Regions from separate parts of the Homo sapiens genome. Here region 1 is linked to region 2. The links are contacts of gene promoters, found by promoter capture Hi-C in human tissues and cell types (Jung and others, 2019). All regions are on one chromosome and are shown on one strand. The core of a region is centred on a gene start or on the middle of the fragment in contact, and the rest is flanking DNA. Distances in the headings are between cores, read along the strand shown.

What was found. The method cuts DNA at HindIII sites, captures the fragments that hold promoters and counts their contacts. A contact is called where the count stands out against the background at its distance.
Region 1: a fragment that was not itself captured here is called in contact with the fragment with the promoter of OSBPL2 in region 2 in 2 of the 25 tissues and cell types used here (lymphoblastoid cells and stomach).

The regions. Positions count from the first base shown.
Region 1 is chr20:62,094,373-62,100,998 of GRCh38, forward strand. No RefSeq gene overlaps it. Among named protein-coding and RNA genes, the nearest start is that of LSM14B, 25 kb to the right of the region's middle. The HindIII fragment of the contact is 5,244 bases long and covers 2,494-6,626 here.
Region 2 is chr20:62,235,862-62,242,732 of GRCh38, forward strand. OSBPL2 (oxysterol binding protein like 2) reads left to right here and starts at 2,660. Exons shown (of 14, transcript NM_144498.4): 1 at 2,660-2,736. LOC105369209 (a long non-coding RNA gene) reads left to right here. Exons shown (of 4, transcript NR_160555.1): 4 at 1-440. RefSeq lists a silencer at 2,388-2,787 and an enhancer at 3,485-4,409. The HindIII fragment of the contact is 10,947 bases long and covers 1-6,871 here.

The DNA.
Region 1 (6,626 bases), core at 3,866-6,365, 140 kb before region 2:
TTTAGTTGCATGTGTGATATATATACTCTTTTATACACACTCTGATATATGTAATCTTTTAATATTTTTTTTTTGAGACGGAGTTTCGCTCTTGTCACCTAGGCTGGAGTACAATGGCACGATCTCAGCTCACTGCAACCTCCACCTCCTGGGTTCAAGTGATCCTCCTGCTTCAACCTCCTGAGTAGCTGGGATTACAGGTGGGTGCCACCACGCCCAGTGAATTTTTATATTTTTAGTAGAGACAAGGTTTCACCATGTTGCCCAGGCTGGTCTCGAACTCCTGACCTCAAGTGATCCAGCCACCTCAGCCTCCCAAAGTTCTGGGATTACAGGTGTGAGGCATCACGCCCAGCCTGCACTCTTCTAACATTAAAAAAAATTATTTGTTATTTATTTTTTTTGAGATGGAGTCTTGCTCTGTTGCCCAGGCTGGAGTGCAGTGGCACAATCTTGGCTCACTGCAACCTCTTCCTCCCAGGTTCACGCCATTCTCCTGCCTCAGCCTCCCGAGTAGCTGGGACTACAGGCGCCCGCCACCACGCCCAGCTAATTTTTTGTATTTTTAGTAGAGACGGGGTCTCACCATGTTAGCCAGGATGGTCTCGATCTCCTGACCTTGTGATCAGCCCACCTCGGCCTCCCGAAGTGCTGGGATTACAGACGTGAGCCACCGCGTCCGGCCTAGAAACATTTAACATTAAACAGTAAAGCAGATGCTCACATGCACAGACTTGCGTATGTGCCTGCACCTGCACAGGTGTGCACACAGGTGTGCCCAGCCTCTCTCAGGAGCTCTGCCAGCAGGTGTCAGTGGGACCCAGCCGCCTGCATATTCTGCAAAGGTCATTCAGATGATTCTCACAGCCCCCGAGATTGAGACCTCCTGCTCTACAACAAAAGGTGCTCGTGCTCTCAAATCTTTTCCCTCAGGTTTCCCAAAATGAGGGATAATTGAAACACATCATTTGCTCTTCGCATGAGAAGCAAAAGTGAGTAACGTGCTGTACGAGGCTAGAATTAATGAAGAGGCTCATGAATGTAATCTCATACATTAAAACCTTTCCCAAATTCATGTCAATCTGCATTGTAATGTTCATATTTTATAAAATGGGGTGTGGGGTTCAGAAACAGTTTGCAAAATGAATGTCCTGCCTCGATAAGCCAGGCACATTTTTTTTTTTTCAGCTTAAAAAACAGGAAAGCCAGAAGCGGTGACTCACGCCTGTAATCCCAGCACTTTGGGAGGCCGAAGCGGACAGATCACCTGAGGTCAGGAGTTCGAAACCAGACTGGCCAACATGGTGAAACACTGTTTCTACTAAAAATTGGCCAGGCATGGTGGTGAGTGCCTGTAATCCCACTACTTGGGAGGCTGAGGCAGGAGAATCACTTAAACCTGAAAGGCAGAGGTTGCAGTGAGCCAAGATCATGCCATTGCACTCCAGCCTGGGCGACAGAGCGAAACTCCGTCTCGAATAGAATAGAATAGAATAGAATAGAATAGAATAGAATAGAATAGAATAGAACAGAACAAAATAAAATAAAATAAAATAACACAGCAGAGGGAGGTCAGAAGCAGTGGCTCATGCCTGTAATCCCAGCACTTTGAGAGGCTGAGGAAGGAATCACTTGAGACCATGAGTTTAAGACCTGCCTGGGCAACATAGTGAGACCCCTGTCTTTACACAATTAAAAAAAAAATTAGCCAGGCATGATGGTACACACCTGTAGTCCCAGCTACTCAGTAGGATGAAGTGGGAGGATCGCTGTAGGTCAGGAGTTCAAGACTAGCCTAGGCAACATAGCGAGACACAGTCTCCACCAAAAAATTAAAAATTAGCCAAACATGGTGGTGTATGCCTGTTGTCTCAGCTACTCGGGAGGCTGAGGCAGAAGGATTGCTTGAGCCCAGGAGGTGGAGGCTGCAGTGAGCTGTGACCATGCCACTGCATTGCAGCCTGGGGGACAGAGCAAGATGTTGTCTCAAAAAAGACAAAAACCCAAAACCAGACAGAAAGCCTTGCTCTGGAATGGATGAGGGCCAGAATCTGCTCATTAGGAGCCTGGTACTGGGCCTCTATCCTGGACTTGAGTTGCAGGAGAAAGGACCAAAGCACCAAGTTGAAACATAGAACAGGTAATCCGAGACCTCGCCGGACACATGCACATGTCTGCACTCTCACGCGTGGTGCACACGCTGCACACCCTTGCATACACACACATGAGCACGCTCATGCTCACACATGCCCTGGCCCACCGCCCCACCTCGACCTCTCCCTCTGGGACCCCAGTCCTGCCTCCTCTGCTACACCCCCTCCCCACCACACTCACCAGCCCTCCCCTGGGGGCCTGCGGCAGGGACCACAGGGGTTTCCTAAGGTCCCCTCATTCTTCGCCATCTGAGGCCCTCTCAGATCTGCTGGCAGACATTTCGGGGGAAAGAGGAGGGGCCAGGAGCTCCTAGCAGCTCCCCCTCTGCAACCTTGACTGGCTCTGCAGACACCTCCTAGGTGCCACGATGGGCCGGGCACGTTCCAGGCGCCAGGGACACATTCCCACCATGCAGGGAGACAGGAGACAAGCACAGTTGTGCCGGCAGGAGGAGCCAGCAGGGCTGAGAGGGGGAGGACAGGAGCCAGGGAGGGCTTCCCTGAGGTGTCATGGGCACAGACACTGTCAGGCGTGGGGAGGGATGCACTCTGCAGGGGGATCTGCACTGCCCAGGCCAGGAGCCGAGAAGTGGATCCAGGAAGGGCTGGGCCCTGCGGTTACCTGTCACCCAGAATGGCACTGGGCGCCTCTTCTGTCCCCGCCGGCTGTGTGGCCCGAGGCGGGCCCTGGGGCTTGGGTTTCTCATCCATGCAGTAGGGACAGTGTCCCACCTCTGCGTCCCTCATGGGGCATGGCAAGGACCGGGGGAATGGAGGGCCTGCCTGGTCGGATCAGAGAGCAGGGTGGGGGGTGGCGGCGGTCTCAAAGAGGAAGGAAGGCCCCTAGGCTGGGGAAGTCGTGTTGATGCCACCACGGGCACAGCCAAGGACAAAATGCCCTGGGGGCCTCACGGGACCAGACCCTTGGGTCCTCCCACCAGGGGTGGGAGACCATCCTGTCCATGACCACGTCCCACGACATGACTTCAGTTCCCGCCTGTCCTCACACTGGGGACTCCCCCTGCTCACTGCACCCACTGTCCAGTGATGGGTAATTTGAGCCCCAGCAGAACAGTTGTCAAGAGGCTGCTCCGGGAAGGCCACGCAGGCACCACACTCAGGGCAAACGTAGTGGAGTAGGGGGTGGGAGGCGATTGCGGACATGGGCATGAGGGTTCCCAGGAAGAGGGTGGGCATGAGGCAGGCATCTGCATGCTTTTGGGGGGGCATGGCTCTGAAGGGGCAGGTGCAGGTGGGAGAGGGTGTGGGGAGAGAGAATTCTGTGCCCCCATGCAGGGGGATGGGTGTTGCCAGAGGCAGGGTGGGGGCACCGCGGACAGTCGGGCGGAGGGCACATTCCAGGAAGCGTTTTACACACAGGCAGACAGGCCCCACTGCAGGGAAATGGAAGATGGGAAGGGCAGCCCATGGCTTTTCTGGTGTCAGAATGGATTTCTGAAACACAGAGTGAACACAGTCATCCGAAAAGCCCAGGGTTCAATGTGCTGGAGCCCAGATCCGTGGGAGCCCAGGGTGGGGACCTGGGCCTGGGGCTGGGGCTCTTTGGACACTGGCCAGGAGGAAGCAGGAGAGGAGCCAGGTAGGGCCCCGACGGCCTCACGGGCTGCTCAGGACAGACCCTGCAGCCAGGACGAGCGTAGGGCTCCAGCAAAGCTGGACCTGCAGCGTGCCGTTGGGGAGGGGCCTGCCTGGGGTCCACTGTTCCCTCAGTCACAGGCTCCCCAGCGTCCCTTCCCGCACCAGAGTGAACGGCAGGAAAAGATGCTGCAGCGGCGCCCGGCCTGCACCTCCTCCCAGGTGAATCTTGTGGAAAAGGAGATGTAGGCCTAGACAAATCTTTTGTTTTAGAACATTTCCTTCTTGAAAAAAAGAAAAAGAAAAAAGAAACCAAAAAAACCCTTGTCTTCCAGGGAGATCAAAAGGTGATGGTGAAGGAGTCCCGCAAGCTGGGAGTTTAAAAATGGAACAGGCCGGGCGCGGTGGCTCACGCCTATAATCCCAGCACTTTGGGAGGCCGAGGCGGGTGAATCACGAGGTCAGGAGTTCAAGACCAGCCTGGTCAACATGGTGAAACCCCATCTCTACTAAAAATAGAAAAAATTAGCTGGGCACGGTGGTGGGCGCCTGTAATCCCAGTGACTCAGGAGGCTGAGGCAGGAGAACCGCTTGAACCTGGGAGGCGGAGGTTGCAGTGAGCCGAGATTGTACCACTGCACTCCAGCCCAGGTGACAGTGGAGGCTCCATCTCAAAAAAAAAAAAAGAAGAAAAAAGAAAAAAATAGCACAGAACTGGGTCAGGTGGGTTTGTCCTGCCACAGACAGGGTGCTGCTTAGAACCAACCAGCTTTCCCCAGAACTCACCTCCTGCCACTTCATGGTGGAGGGGGTGGCTGCTGGGTTGGACCCAACTCCACCATCTTCCAGCTGGTGAGGATTTCCACGCCATTCCAGGTCACCCCCCGACCTGTTGGGAGCCGGCGTCTTGGACAGGGGAAAGCTGAACAGGGCAGTGAAGAACAGTCTAGAAGCATGTTCTTCACTTCAAGACCCAGGACCCCATGGACATCCTGCCTACAGATCGCCCCACTAGCCCTGCTTCAGTCACTGGGCATCTGGCAGCACTCGATAGGTGCCATGTGGTACTGCCTGCTCTGTGGGTGCAGCTGCCATGCCGAGGCCGTCCCCTCTGTCCTCTCCAGGCTCTCCTGTAACCTCCCAGCTCTGCTCTCCCATGCCCTCCCTCAACCCAGCCCTTCCGTGGGGGCTCCTCCTGGCTCTCCCCGGCCTGTCCCTCCACACCCCCTTTCAGACCCTCACAGCTGCCTCCCCACACCAGCCTTCAGGGGACTCTGCAGCCCACCTCTCTGCCCACTCCTTCCTCCTAGATTCTCACTGAAGCTTCCCCCGCTCTCCCTAGACCCGCAGCTCATACCCCCGGCTACTTATTAGAATGCCTGGCAAGCTTGGATAAAACCCCATACTCAGCCACACCCAGGCCCATTAAACCACACACCTAGAGTTGGCCTGGAAGCCTCGAGGTACATCCAGGGTGCAGCAGGTAGGAGGCCTCAGTCCCAGACCAAGGAAGGAGCCCTTACCATAGAGTGCCCAGCCCCACCCCAGCCCCGATGCTCACCAGCGTGGGGATTGTATGTTGACCCACACTCAATGAGTGTCTGTGGGATCAGTACATCAGTGATGGGGGGATCAGTCCATCAACAGATCAATGAATGAACCAATGACTGGATGATCTGAGTGGCCACTGCTATTGGCTGAGACGGCTTCTCTCAGGTTTGTCCTCACCACCTGCTTGCTGTCTGAGCAGCCCACCCTCCTCCGTGCACCCCTGGACCCACCTCTGCTTCCCATGGGTACACCCTTGCCTCTGATACAGACGGAAATCCTGATGGCGACAGAGCTGACTCTCCTAAGGCATCCTTTGCATCTGCATCAAAACGATCTGAGGCCACAGATGAGGCCACGAAGAGAAGAACGTGGCCCTGCCTGCTCTGGATTCCCAGCCCCACGGCCCTGCTGTCCTGCTGCTGCTTCCCTGCACTTCCTCTGCTCACCCGCCCGGCAGAGGGTGGTCCCCTGGGCCCACGCAGGCCTGAGCAGCGCACTCCTCCAGGCTTTGGGTGTAAGTCGTTCTTGCGGTCAGTTTATCCTGTGTCTGCCTGTTCCCATCCCAAACCTCCCCAGGGACTCTAGAAAGCGTGTCCTGGGCCACCTTTCCACGTGGGGAGCAAGAAAGCCATCAGCCCCATCCTCCCAGGGGCTCTCATGGGCAGCCTGGCCCTGACTCCCCAGGCGGCTGCTCTTCACACTGCTGTCCATGGGCAACGAGCTCCCACACCTCTGTTGGGGTTTGTCCTGAGCGGAACCTGGGTCCCCCGACTGCCCTCCCCGCTCACTCCCTGCACATTCTCTAGGAGTTCACTGAGAAAGGTGCCTGGAGGCCTCCTCAGTCTTAGGGTCCCCCGGGGGACGAGGATGCAGAGTAGCTTCCCACGGGGCTGTGAAGGTTTTGCCCGCTGCCGACATTGTCCACCTGCAGCCACCTGAGAGGCAGTGCCAGTCAGATCACCAGCTCTTTCGTGGGACTGGGACCTGCTCTGCCAAGAGTTGGCTTCATGTCCTGTGTTCAGAAATTTCATGATGCCATGCCGGCCTTCCTTCACTCATTCAACCTGGAGCCTCACGTCCACATTTTAGGATGTTTCCTCATAAATCACTTGCTTGGCGATGCTCTCCATTCTGTTTTCTCTTTCTGGAGCTCTTATTAATGTTTTCTTCCCTATTTTTCATTTCATTTTCTCTACTTTATGAAAAAATTATCTTTTTTTTTTTTGAGACGGAGTCTCTCTCTGTCACCCAGGCTGGAGTACAGTGGCACAATCTCGGCTCATGGCACAATCTCCACCTCCTGGGTTCAAGTGATTCTCCTGACTC
Region 2 (6,871 bases), core at 1,410-3,909:
CGTGTGCGGATCCTGGTCCGGGAGCCTGGATGCGGCTCTGCCTTGCCGACAAGCTCCTGGGCCAGGCCTGGTCCACCAGACCTCCCTATGCTTGGAGTGCCTGCTTGTTGTGCCTGGAGCTGTGCTGGGCCCTTCCTCATTGCAGGGCTGGGGGAGTCACTTAACCTGTCTGGGGCTCAGTCTTCTCATCTGTAAAGTGGGAATGATGGCACCTGGTACCCACTTGATTGGCTGTTGCAAACATGAAACCAGATGGGCCTGTAAATCACAGGGCACTCGGCCGCCATCACCATCATCATCATCAACATCATCATCCTCATCATCATGGCCCCAGCTCATCCATCTTTGTTGCCTTCTCCACCCCCATCTTCCATCCTTGGAGAACTGTGCCTCTTGAATTGGCCTCGTGACCTAGTAAAGATCATAACAAAGACGCCTAAGTTGGTCTCAAGGCACCCTCCTTACTACCCACCAACTGAGGGAGGATTCTCGCCTAGTCCCAGCAACTGGCCCCGGGGAGGAAGTACCCTTCCCAGTCCTGGCACGTCTCCAGCAGTGCTGGCTGACGGCAGACTACCCTTGAAGCTCAGTTACTGCATTTGTGGAGAGGGGTGAAACCCCTGCTCCAGCCCAGGGGCCATCTGAGATCACACCCCCAACCCCAAGGCCAGGGTGGATCTCCCTGCTTGGCCCTGGGGTGGTCCCTGGGCAGATGAGAGGGTCCTTCTGCCTGAGCCTCTGAGGCTGCCCTCACTGCAGAGCTCGTGGTCAAGGGGTGGGTGGGCAGGTTGGATCCCCTCAAGGGCACAGGGGTTAGAGTCTTAGAGACTTAGGGTGAGGGACATGGAGAGTGATGGGTTTCTGGGACCCTGAGCTGGCCCTGGCAAGGCCCACAGGGAAAGCTGTGGAGCGCAGTCATCTCCGTGGCAACTGGCCTCATCGTCCTTGTCCTGGCTTGGGGGCCGCACGCCTTCCCTTCCCTTTCACCGGCTGGAGTCGCTTTCTTCAGAGGTAACCATGGCAACCCCTTTGTTTCTGAGGCCTGCCCGCCCTCCTCCCCGTTCTCTCTTCAGGAGAGGCTCAGCCAGCTCCTTCCTGGTCCCGGCACGTCTCTAGTGGCGCCGACTGACAGTGGCCCACCAGTGAGTGGGGCCAGCCCCTGGGGTGGGGGAGAACGGCCCTGCTGGGCCCAGAGATGTGGCCTGGGCCCCACCCCTGCCACAGAGGCCACGTTCATTGGCTCACTCATGCCCTGAAATTTATAGAGAGTACCCACGTCTGCCACGGGGCCACAGATGGGGCAAAGGCCTGTCCCTGCCTCCATGGCCCTGCTAGGGGCAGCCTGGAAGTGGGGAGACAAGGCCTGAGGAGGGGGTGCAGAGGCCCAACGGGGGCTGGCTTTGCTGCAGGACGCACTGCGGGGTCACGGGTCATCTGCCAGAGCTCTCAAGGCCACAGGAAGCCCAGGACTCTTGGCTTTACCTCAAATGGGCTGAAGCAGAAACAAGCATGTGGTTCACGTAACTGAAAAGTCAAGGAAAGGACCTGCTGAGGTGCAGCAGGGTCCACGTGACCCGGCCGTGGTTGCTCCGGCTTTCCTCTGGGCTGGCTTCATTCTCGTGCAGCCCTGTTCTCGGGTAGTGAGATGTGGAAGACTGGCCCCTTCCCTCTCTCACCTAACCCAGCTCTGGAGAGGTCTGTGGGCAGATGGGAGAGTCATTTGACTTCAGCCTCCCCTCCGGTCTGAACTCTGACCCTACAGCAAAAGTCCCAGGACTGAGCCTCTTTGGCTAGAACTGGGTCACAGGCTGACCCCTAAACCAACTGCTGTGACTATGTAGCCAGCCTGGTTTATGCCACTCCACTCACCTCAAACCAGACCCATGACTTCAATGAGATGTTGACAGGGGAACCCTGGTTTGCAGATGAAACTGAGTGATCACAGACTCAGAGAGGTTAATTAATTTGTCCAAATCCACACAGCTGGTAAAGAATGCAAGCTCCAGGTCTGATTCCAGAACTTCTGGGCTTAACCCTGGAGCCACTGTAGGTCAGTGGGAGTCCAAAGGGTTTTAAGTATGGTGGTGAAACGGTCGGGGATGCAGCTGGAGGGGTAAATTGGCGCTGGATTTTGGTTGGCGGTGAATGGCATGCAAAGGAGGTGGACGATATTCAGGATTTGGTAGGACAGTGGAAGCAGCTACGCCCCAGCTATCGCACGGTCCCCAGCATTTGTAGGAAAAAGCCCCCAGGGCTTTGGGTAGCCTCGCAGGCCCGCACTGCCGCCAGGACGCAGTGCACCTGAGGGCGGAGCACCCACGCCCCGGGCCACCTGACTCACTGTTTGTCAACTCTGCTCTCTGCAGCCACGCCCTTTCCTCCTTGCCTCCCTCCCCTTTTGGCTCAGGGGCGGCATAACCCCGCCTCTCTCCTGCTGTGACTGGCTGTCCTTGCCGTCACTCCGCTGCGTGGGCGGGGCTCTGAGGGGGCACAGGTAGAGGCCCTTCGCGAAGGGATTAGCATAGTCCCACCCCCCGGCGCGAGCCTCGGGCCGGGCGCTGATTGGGCAGGCAGCGGCCGACGCGGCGGCGCCGGGCGCAGCGAGTGGCGGGCGCGGGCTGTCAGTCGGCGAGGCGGCGGGCCGCACTTCCGCCTCGGTGTCAGTGGGTCGCGGGCCTACGGGGCGGGGGCGGGGCGGCAGTGAGCTCGGCCGGCAACCGAGGGACCCGCGTCCAGGTGAGTGGCCCCCGCCGCCGCCACGCGAAGGCCCGGGACCCCGGCGAGCTGCGGGGCCTGGGCCGCGGGCTGGGGCTGGAGCCGGGGCGGGGAGGGGAGGGCGGGCCGGGCAGGACCCGGGTCCGCAGGCCGCCTCCAGCCCCGGCCCCGGCCCCGGCCTCGACCCCCACTGGGAGGCGCGCCCGGCCTAGGCCGCAGCCTGGCGCCCCGGGGAAACTTTGGGAGGAAAGTTCCGGCCGGGCGTGGGGCCTGGGCCTGGGTCCCGCGGCCCCCGCACCCTTCCCCCTGCGGTCGCCCGGCAACTGCGATCCCGGGACCCCCGGCCCGGCCCCCCCGAGATCCCCAGCCCCCCTGCTGCCCCGCTGAGCAGGAAGTGGGGACGGGCGCACCTGCTCGCGGCCTCGCCCTCTCTCACCACCTCACCGGGAACAGGGAAGGATTTCGTGCGCATTTAGGGCGATCCTGTAGGTGAGGAGGGCGAGTTCCGCCGGGAAGAAGGGCAGGGAGACGCAGTCCCACTCCGACCCTGGCCTTCTTGTCCCGCAGGCCTGTGTGCACGTCGTCCCGGGGAGGGTGCCCGCGAGCCCTTGTCCGTTCCCCTGGGCTCTGTTTTTGTTTTTAATTTATAAATCTTAGCAGACTACACACGGTTGAGAACTTGCTACCTAAAACCTATCTTTGGTAATGTAATTTTAAGAGGTTCCTTCTTTCGCCAGTTATATTTTGGTACTCAGAAGAATACGTCTTTAGACTTTCCAAGTTTATAAGCCCAGACCAAGACTGTTAGGTCGTCACAGCACCTCAGCCTCCCCGCTTCATGGGAGGACCGGCGACGAGGCAGTGGGTGTCGGGGTGTTGCAGGCTCTCCTGGGGTGAGGGTCACCTCCCAGGGGCGTTTCTATCTGAACCGTCCTCTAGGACAGGCCCTGGCCTAGCCTGGCTCCGGCAGCTTTGGGATGACTGCCCGGAACACCTGGAGAAGGGGTCCCATTCGGTTTGGTTGGATAGACGTTTCTCGAATGCCTGCTGTGGGCCTGGCTGGGTGCTGTGCGGCCTTCCCACCAGCTGGATGTGTGGTGAGGACAGCGGAGAGTTGAGGAGCCCGGAACTGGTGCAGGGGCCACATGCTGGGAAGCCACGGCCGTCCCTGCTGCCCTTCCTAACTCGTGCCCATGGCCTCTTTTCTGGCTGTCAGCCTCAACTCCTTCATCCGGACATGTAGCACTTTGCTGATAAGAGAAGCAAACGAGATCATTTTCTTGTTTTATGTTTTGAGATGGAGTCTCGCTTTGTTGCCCAGGCTGGAGTGCAGTGGTGCGATCTTGACTCACTGCCACCTCCGTCTCCCGGCTTCAAGCCATTCTCCTGCCTTAGCCTCCCATCTAGCTGGGACCACAGGCGCCGGCCACCACGCCCGCCTAATTTTTTTATTTTTAGTAGAGATGGGGTTTTACCATGTTGGCCAGGCTGGTCTCGAACTCCTAACCTCAAGGGATCCGCCTGCCTCAGCCTCCCAAAGTGCTAGGATTCCAGGTGCGAGCCACCGCGCCCTGCCATGAAATCATTTTCTACCACAGTCTCTGACACCTAGTGCGCACCCCGGAATGCCAGTTACCTTCCCCTTGTTGAGGACAGGAACTTTGTCGGTGGCACTTCCTCCCTGCCCAGCCCAGTGCCTGCCACAGTGTCGTCTTTTAGAATGTGGCAATGAGTGAGTGAGTGACTGAGTCTCCCTCATAGAATTTACCCTGTTTTCTTCATGTGTCCATCTATTAATGACAGCTCTTACCCCAGCAGACGATAATATTTAATAATGATTGTTCCAGGACTGTTACGAGCATGTCGTATTCACTTTCTTTGTGTGATCTTCACAACAGTCCACTGGGCAGGTACTGACATTATCCTTAGTTCATTCATGAGGAAGCTAAGGAACAGAGAGGTTAAGTAACTTACCTAAACCACACAGCAGTAAATTATGAAATATGGATTTGAACCCAGGCTCCAGGGTTCACACTCTTAAACACTACCCTGTACTGCCTTTTAATATCAAGATTTTCATTTAACATTTTCGTTTAGAATATTCTAATCATGCTGCATTACTCTGTGTCAGAATTTCGGGATTTTGCTACATATAGAACTAATAGACTTTCTTTTTTGTGAGCCTGAGTGTTTACAAAGCCATTTCATTTTTTCTGAAATAAAGTAATTTACCGTTTGACCATTCAGGATTTTGCCAGAATACCTTCCCTGCCACCCAGCTCCTTTGTTACTGGCAGATTCAGTGGTGGTCTCTGTGTGAAGAGGGAGGACTGAGGGGCATGGGTGCTGACAGGCGTACAGTCCAGACTCTGAGGTCTCCGTTCTGAGTTCAGTTCCAGGGGACTTCACACACTGCCTTAGAGTACACACGTAGGACATTTTTCTTCCACGCCTCGAGTGCGTTGAGAGGGTCAGACTCTGCTGTGTTCCACATGTTAATGAGAGGTGCTGTTTGAATGTGAAAAAAATGCCACTTGACTTTCATCCCAGTGTCTCTCCTCTGTGCCGTCCAGGAGATGCCAGCAGATGGGTCTTGGAATTTTTTTTTTTTTGAGATGGAGTCTCGCTCTGTCGCCCAGGCTGGAGTGCAGTGGCGCGAACTCGGCTCACTGCAAACGCGAACTCAGCTCACTGCAAGCTCTGCCTCCCGGGTTCACACCATTCTCCTGCCTCAGCCTCCCAAGTAGCTGGGACTACAGGCGCCCGCCACCACACCTGGCTAATTTTGGGTCTTGGATTTGTCATTAAAGCTTGCTCGACTTTTAAAGTTTTAGTACATTCAGCCAATTACAAAAGTGACATTTTGTATAAGGGAATTGTTGACACATTTTAGGTTCTTATGCTGTCTTCAAGCAGGGAAGCTGCCATCTCCTCAAGGTGATTTCTTTAATGTCCCCATGCAAGCCATGTCTTGTCTGGCCGTGCAGGCACAGCTGGCGCCGTGCCTTCCTGAGTCACAGCATCTTTGCGAAGGTGGTGCGCCAGACCAGGGCTCTTGGGTCCTGGGTGGGTTCCCACTGGCTCCTGCCTTCAGTGTCTTTGCCTGTAAGACGGATTACTATGTGGAATCTGTGAAAATATAACATCAAGTGTCTGATACGTTGTGGGTGCCTGGGCCGCCCTTGGCTCCAACACCTGCTGAAGCTGGAGCCTCTCAGCAGTGCAGCAGTCACACCCTCAGGTGTCCCGGGATCTTTGGGTGTGGGCTGATTTTCTCCTAGTCATTGTCATACTTCCTGTTTGGGTGTTGACATTTCGTTTAGTGTTTAGCACAGATTGTCAGGTACGAGGTTTAATTCCAATATGTAGTACATTTTCAGGTTGATTTATAACCTTATCTACACTGAAAGGAAGTCAGTATTTGAACATGACTGATTATTAAAAAGGACCGAAGTCCTGAGTTAATATGGTGGGTTCTGGTTTGATAGTTTAAATGCACTTTCCACATATGCTAGTTGATTTGTAAATCTGCTGTCATTTTTGCTTTTTCAGAGTGTTCTTGCTAGTGAGTTTCAGGCATGGTGTCCCGGCCTCTCAGGCTGCTGGTTTGGGCTAGGGTCCCACTGTGGAAGCGTGGTGGTGTCCCGGCCCACCTCTGCAGCTCTTGATAATAAAAGCATCTGTTAAATAGCTCACAGCACTGTTTGCGTGAACTTTTTGGCACTTCTTTCCTTTTCCTTCCAGATTCAGAAAAGAACTTGGGATCATTCAGCAGAATGTCACAGCATCCACATTCTTTCCGCTGGAGCTTCTGCTGATGCAAATCCTGTGACCTCTGAGTTGAGCTGAGTGGTGGAAGTGAGCTTTTATAAGGGACTGGATCTGAGACTCGTGCCTGATGTTTGTGGCTGTTTCTCTTTGCTTGCCTTCTGTTTTCAGTGGAACACTCGCTTGATGTATTTTGAGAAACAAACTCTGGGATCAGTCCTGTTGAGCTAGTGGCTGGCTCCATAGTTTGGGGCCTGAAGAGGTTCCCGCACCCTCAGGGCTTGTGGCGGTCATCAGGCCTCTCTCCTGGGTGTAAGGTGTGTACTTCTCACCTGCGCACTGAGGGCCTGGGGGCTGTGGCCCCGACGCTGAGGCAAGTCAGGGGTGG